Linked DNA regions of Homo sapiens: region 1 is linked to region 2. Evidence: promoter capture Hi-C in 16 types of primary human blood cells and fetal thymus (Javierre and others, 2016). All regions are on one chromosome and are shown on one strand. Each heading gives the region's core, a stretch centred on a gene start or on the middle of the fragment in contact. The rest is flanking DNA. Distances are from core to core; before and after follow the strand shown. Region 1 holds the start of FAM91A1 (family with sequence similarity 91 member A1). Region 2 holds the start of NSMCE2 (NSE2 SUMO ligase component of SMC5/6 complex).

Region 1 (3,266 bases), core at 649-3,148, 1.3 Mb after region 2:
CCAGAACCTTAATATTCACTTCCTGGCACTAAATCCCCAAGGGAGGAAGGGAGCAAAGTAAACTAAACTATAACAATCCTCATACTGGCTGGGCACTGTGGCTCACGCCTGTAATCCCAGCACTTTGGAAGGCCGAGACGGGCGGATCATGAGGTCAAGATATCGAGACCAGCCTGGCCAACATGATGAAACCCCGTCTCTACTAAAAATACAAAAATTAGCTGGGCGTGGTGGCGCGCACCTGTAGTACCAGCTACTCGGGAGGCTGAGGCAGGAGAATCGCTTGAACCCAAGAAGCAGAGTTTGCAGTGAGCGGAGATCACACCACTGCACTCCAGCCTGGGCAACAGGAGACTCTGTCTCAAAGAAATGAAAATAAAAATAAAAATAAATAAATAATCCTTATATACCATCACCGCCACCATTCCAAACTTCCCAAAAATGCCACTGCCGAGTGCCAACAGAAAACTGAATTTCACTCTCGACCAAGTATAATGGGAGGAAGCGAAGGTCAATCTATGACCAGAGCAGCAGTGCGTTATCTGTAGCCCATATCACTACTTTCGTAAGACTTAAAACCATCTGCTATGTTACGTATTTATTCATTTATTTGTTTACGTCTTTCTTTAGTAAAATGTAAGCTCCATGAAGGCAGTCTTTGTCTTGTTGACTGTTGCAAATTACCTGCACCTAGAGCAACGCACAGCACCTAGTAGGTGGTCAATAAATATCTATTAAACAATTGAGTAAAACAGACTAAAAAAATCGAGAATTAACTTTCAAAAACCTCATGTCACTCTTGTTGAAACATCTCTGATAAACCCATCTTGTCTGGAGGATAAAGTCCAACAAAACAAAGCACACAAGCACCTTCAAAATCTGGCCCTGACCACTTTTCCAGGCTCATCTGCTACCAGCCCCGCGCACTCAAAAAACTTCAACTCCAAACATGTCAGTCCAAACTCTGGTGATACAGTCACTTGCTACTCATGAGACATGTTCTTTCACTCATCCAAGCTTTGTAAAATGACTTTCCCTCCCCCTGGAAAAATCTTTATTCCCTCTTATTTAACTCTTATTCGTCCTCCAAGGCCCAATTTAAGTGCCTGCCTTAAAAATCCTTCCAACTCTCCCAGGATAATTTCTCCCTCCCTCTGCTCTCACATATACTACAATGCAGGTGTGTATGAGCTGCTATCATCCTGTATCGTATTCATTTGTTTCCCATCCCTTTCCCACCATCCTGAAATTCCGGAGGTCAAGGACCGTGTTTAAAATCTCTATCGCAGGTGCCTGGCTGAATGTATCCTGCGGGCAAAGGCGCCAGTCGAGTCCTGTGGACACCATGCCATCCCATTTAGCGATCGCCCCGTCCTGGCCCTGTGGCCCCACAGCCGTCCCCTCCTCGCCCTGGGCTGAAGGTCCGTCTCCCCAAGACCACGGAGGAGTAAAGGAAGGGAGTCAGCCGGCAGCAGCCCGCTCGGGCCCCGCGAGCGAGGCAAGCAGGTGACCGCTGGGCGGGCCGAATCCGTCAGGGGCCCGGTCCCAGGTTCCGGCCGTACCTGTCTCACGTTGGCCGGCAACTTGTTCCAGGGGTAGTTGTGCCGGATGTGGAACTCCACGTCTATGTTCATGATGCCGCGGCCAGGGCCGGCGGCCGGGGCCGCCACCGCGACCCACACTACGCCTCCCGCCTGCCCGCCCGCAGCCTGTCAGCGGAGCGACGCGGGAGGCCCCGCGCCTCACACTGCAGAAGGCCCAGGCTGCCCCATGGCCTAGGCTCCCGACAGTTCAGCGCCGCCCGGGCCAACCGAGTACAAGAGCAGCAGCGATTGGAGGCTGGATCGCCTGAACAGCTCCAAGTTTCTTCCTAGTTTCGGGCCGCCGGAAATGGCTCTGGGCACACGTCACTTCCGCCCGCTGGCGCGCGGCCGGAGGGGCGGGGCACGGACTGGCCTCTAGCCACGCCCTCTACAGGCTGCGGGGCGGGGCGACGACGAGGTACCGGGAGGTGCCCGGGTGAGCGTTCCCCGCCCGCGCGCTTCGTCTCCCCGTTTCAGTCTCTGAATGAACGGCGATAGTCGCTTGGGTCTGCGTTGCCGTTGCTGATGACCCAGTTTACTCAAATTGTAAAGCCGGAGGCACTGGGGTCGGTTTTCAGAGAAAAGCGACCTGGGAAGCGGGCCGGCAGTGGCTGGCTTTACATTGGAGTGCGGTGCGCTCGCGGGGGTTCTCCACAGGCCAGCCCGGAACCCGGGCCAGTGAGACGGGGCGGGGGGTTGCGGGGACGGGTCCAGGGCCCTGGAGAAAGAAATAATCTCTAAGTCAGGTCTCGCACCGGGTTGAGCGAGAAGCATGGGCAGTGGGAGAGCAAAGGTCTGGTAAGCCCTCTTCCCTTCCGCGGTGTGCTGCACGTCATTGGGCTCCACTTCCCAAGAAGATCCAAATTCTTACAATGCAGGGATTCAGGGAGCTGAAATTTTAAACAGTGGTGCTGACAGGTCGAGGCAGCCTACAGGGCTGACAGAGAGATACCCTTGCCAACTTTGTCATGCAGCCTGTCGGTTTCTGCTTTATTCTGCTCCACACAAATGCCTCCAGAGTCACTTAAAAGCAAAAATCCAGCATGTCTTAATTTCAGATTGAGTGATAAGGTCTTTGGGAATAATTTCTTTCAGAAGTTGTTACGCTGCCTTAGCAAACCCGTGACCATTATTCCTGGCAGCAACCAGAGACAAGTTCAGTGTTATTGCAACTGTTTTTCAGTTTTTAACAATGGTTTTAAATAATGTTTTATTATATACTGGGAGATGTATACTTAGAACTTTTTATAAGATACCTAGCTCACACCTCAACAGCTGGCAAGTCTGATGCTTAGCAGAAACCCCATTATGTCTGATGAAATAAAGGTGACAAGTACACACTGCCCTTGCTTAGATGTTTTGGTCTCCTATTATCCAACTATAATAACCCAAAGATAAGTGCTTTGAACCTTATGTTTACAGATCCTCATCAGCATAGCTAAGGTTAACTGAACTCTAACCGTGAGACATTTATTCAACAAATATTGATTACCTGCCCGCCATGTATTAAGGCCTTGACTTGACAATAGATTATTCCTCACAACCCTGATATTCCTACAACAGTAACCACTTACTATCCCAGTTTGATAGAGGAGGAGACTGAGGCTTGGCAGGGCTTCATGACTTGCTCGCAAGATCACACAGGTAGCACTGACAGAGCCAAACTGGAGCCGAAGGCTATCC
Region 2 (3,285 bases), core at 740-3,239:
TTCTAGCCTGGACGATAAGAGTGAGACGCTGTCACCAAAAAGGAAAAAGAGGACTTTTCCTCATCCTGCTCCCACCATGAGAAAACCTTCTCTTCAGTTTTCTTTCTATTTATTTATTTATTTTTTGAGACAGAGTTTCGCTCTGTCGCCCAAACTGGAGTGCAGTGGCATGATCTCGGCTCACCTCAACCTCTGCTTCCTGGGTTCAAGGGATTCTCCTGCCTCAGCCTCCCGAGTAGCTGGGATTACAGGTGTGTGCCAGGACACACCAATTATGTTATTTATTTACTTATTTATTTATTTATTTATTTATTGTATTTTTAGTAGAGAGAGGGTTTCGCTATGTTGACCAGGCTGGTCTCAAACACCCGACCTCAAGTGATCCGCCCGCCTTGGCCTCCCAAAGTGCTGGGATTACAGGCATAAGCCACTGTGCCAGGGCCTCTCTTCAGTTTTCTATCTGCCCACATCTTACCCATATGCTAAAGTCTGAATGTTTGTGTCACCCAAAATGTATATGTTGAAATCCTAACTTCCAAGGTGATGGTATTAGGAGGTGGGGCCTCTTGGGAGGTGATGAGGCCCACTTTCATGAATAAGATTAGTGCCCTTTTAAAAGATGCTCCAGATAGCTGCTTTGCCATTCCACCATGTGAGGACACAGCAAGAAGCCACCTATGAACCAGGAAACAGGCCCCGGAACTGTGAGAAATAAATTTCTGTTGTTCATAAGCTACCTAGTTTATGGCATTTCCGTTACAGAAGCCCACATTGACTAAGATACCATCTTTCATGGCTTGGTTTAAGTGGTTCTCAACCAAGAAGGATTTTACCCCTCTCGCAAGGGGACATTTAGCAGTATCTGTAGACTTTGTGGTTGGCATCTAGCGGGCAGAGGCCAGGGATGCTCTTAAGCATCCTACAAAACACAGGACAGCCCTCACCCTGACCCCACAGCAAAAAATTATCTGGCCTAAAATGTCAATAGTGCATCAGTTGAGAATAACTGGTTTAAATCAATCTCTCTTGGATCCCTCCCCAGGTAATAACACTGATCTTTTTCTTCCCGGTACCTATGATCTCCAAGAAAGTTTAGAACAAGTTGTGCATTTCCTGAGTTTTTTCTCTGCATGTTATTTATAGACAATATGTTGACTTCCTTTAAATCCATGGGAGCCTTGTACAAGTCAGCCAGAGCTGCCTCTCCTTTTTCAACATGCAAGGATAATCCCTTCTCTCTGAATCCTTCTCATACAATTGCTTTTCCCTCCCTCATGCTACCATTATCCCTATCACATGCACATGTACACAACACACTCCTATTATGAAACTCATCACAACTATTTGCTCACATGTCTGCAGCTTCTTTAAACTGACACCTCCTTAAACTAGAACCCTGACATATTCTATTGCATATAAAGCAATTCCTCACACAAAATAGGGGACCAATAAAGATTTGGCCAGTTACAAAAATAACAACAGACATCATCATTTCTCGGTCACCTACAGAATGCCATAAACTGGTGTCCCGGCACTTTATTCTCCTTATCGCTAATTCTCACTGCAATCTACATAACTGAAGAGGAAATTGAGGTCCAGAGAGTTTATTCAAACGACCTTCCCGTGGCCTTACTTTTAAAGTCAGTTCAAACAAAATCTATTTGGATCAAAAATTCGTAATCTTGCCCCTACACACTTGAGGCGAAAGGATGGAGAGATGGCGTCTCGGACAGGAGGGTAAACTGTCCCAGACTCACTACCGTGGCGTGAAAAGTTCCACAACCATAATCCGGGTAGACGGACCCCCGGCTCGGAGTCCCCGTGGAGTGTCCCTGAGGGTGGCGAAACTCCTGCCACCCTCCCCATTGCCGTCCCCCGCTTCTTCCCTACCTGGTAGTCCAAGCTGTCTCCGTCTGGTGGCACCCCAATTTCCCCTGCCTAGACCCACCTCCTTTCCTCAGCCCCCTTCGCCTGCCGCTGAAAAGTGAGAGCGGGCTCTTGCGTCATCAGCCGTCGCCGGCGAGTGGTCACATGATGCCCCTCCCTGCTCCCAGCCGCTTCGGTCATGTGACCGCCTGGGGAGTCAGGGGCGGAAGTCGGGGTCTGACCCGCTCCAGGTCCGGGACTGCGGATAGAAGAGGACCGCCGCCTTGAGGGAGGGGTGGAAACTGGGTGCCGGCTCCGCGCGCGACCTCCGGCCCTGCGCGTGCGCCGTGGCGCGGCCCGGCTGACAGGTGAGTGGGGATGGAGTGAGCGCGCCCCATTTTTGCATGGCCCCCTTCCCCTCCCCGCTGGGCCGCGCTGGCCACGGGGAGGTCTGCAGAGTCGCGTGCAGCCTGGATGGGGGACTCGGGATGGAGGGCTTAGGGGCTTTCTGGGGCGGGGGCTGTAATCCAGCTCTTCGTCTCCGCTTAGGGGGAAATCATTTTGCACACCCCTTCCTCGCTTTAGGAAGCACCGTTCAGCTGCTTGGTCCGAATCTCATCCTTCCAAGTTTCCGGGAACACTGCTGTATGGATGTCGTCGTTATTTCTCTTTGCTTTTGAGAAAACTGAAAGGCTAGTAGTGAGGACTTTTACAGGCTGACAGACGTGGATTTGCATTCTAGTTATGCCATGGGCTGTGAGTTTGGGCAAGTCATTGCTGCTCGCCGCGCCTTAATGCCTTCACCTGTGACATACTGATGTCAAAATCCTTTGCATTTGGGGGAAAAAAAAAAAGTTCCCAGGGCCCTGATTCCTGGGATCGGAATCAGGATTATGATCGGACAGGAGAAAGAAAAAAAGTCACAGAGCCATAAAACTGGGTCTCCTGATTGCAAGCGCATGGAGCTCCCTCAAACATAGGTGAGGCGTAGTGAGGGCGAAGTTTTACTGTCTTTGTGCACTACAAGGGACACCTTCTCTAATTGTCCTTCACCTGCCTTTCCCAGGATTTCAGGTTCAGCCTCATTTCAGAACTTTTCTGGAAAATATATGCAGCTTGCATTTATCTTGATCAGCAACCGTTATATTTTGTTTGTGATAATGGATTTGTGGAGACCAGTGCTTCCTTTATGGAACTGAGGTTTTGCGAAAGGCTAAAAATAGACCTGCCTTCTTTTGTCCTCTGAAGAGGGTAAACTGTTTGTCCACGACAATTCGATTTCCTTAAGAAATATTATTCTGTACTCAGGGTAATTGGTGTAAGGATGTCATGCCTTATTCTTGAAAGCATGTCTTTTGATTAGGATTACTTCCCAAACTGAAAATCACAGTTCCACGCCAAATTATTAAAAATGAAGTT

Evidence for each region. The method cuts DNA at HindIII sites, captures the fragments that hold promoters and counts their contacts. A CHiCAGO score of 5 or more calls a contact.
Region 1: a contact is called between the fragment with the promoter of FAM91A1 here and the fragment with the promoter of NSMCE2 in region 2, in 2 of 17 cell types (monocytes and total B cells). The highest score is 11.1, in monocytes.

The regions. Positions count from the first base shown.
Region 1 is chr8:123,767,071-123,770,336 of GRCh38, reverse strand. It overlaps FAM91A1 (family with sequence similarity 91 member A1), which reads right to left and starts at 1,898. Exons shown (of 24, transcript NM_144963.4): 1 at 1,563-1,898. The coding sequence starts at 1,634. RefSeq lists a silencer at 1,563-1,712. The HindIII fragment of the contact is 7,175 bases long and covers 1,020-3,266 here.
Region 2 is chr8:125,090,564-125,093,848 of GRCh38, reverse strand. NSMCE2 (NSE2 SUMO ligase component of SMC5/6 complex) reads right to left here and starts at 1,989. Exons shown (of 8, transcript NM_173685.4): 1 at 1,891-1,989. It overlaps WASHC5 (WASH complex subunit 5), which reads left to right and starts at 2,057. Exons shown (of 29, transcript NM_014846.4): 1 at 2,057-2,234. RefSeq lists an enhancer at 1,898-2,117 and a silencer at 2,168-2,337. The HindIII fragment of the contact is 6,790 bases long and covers 1-3,285 here.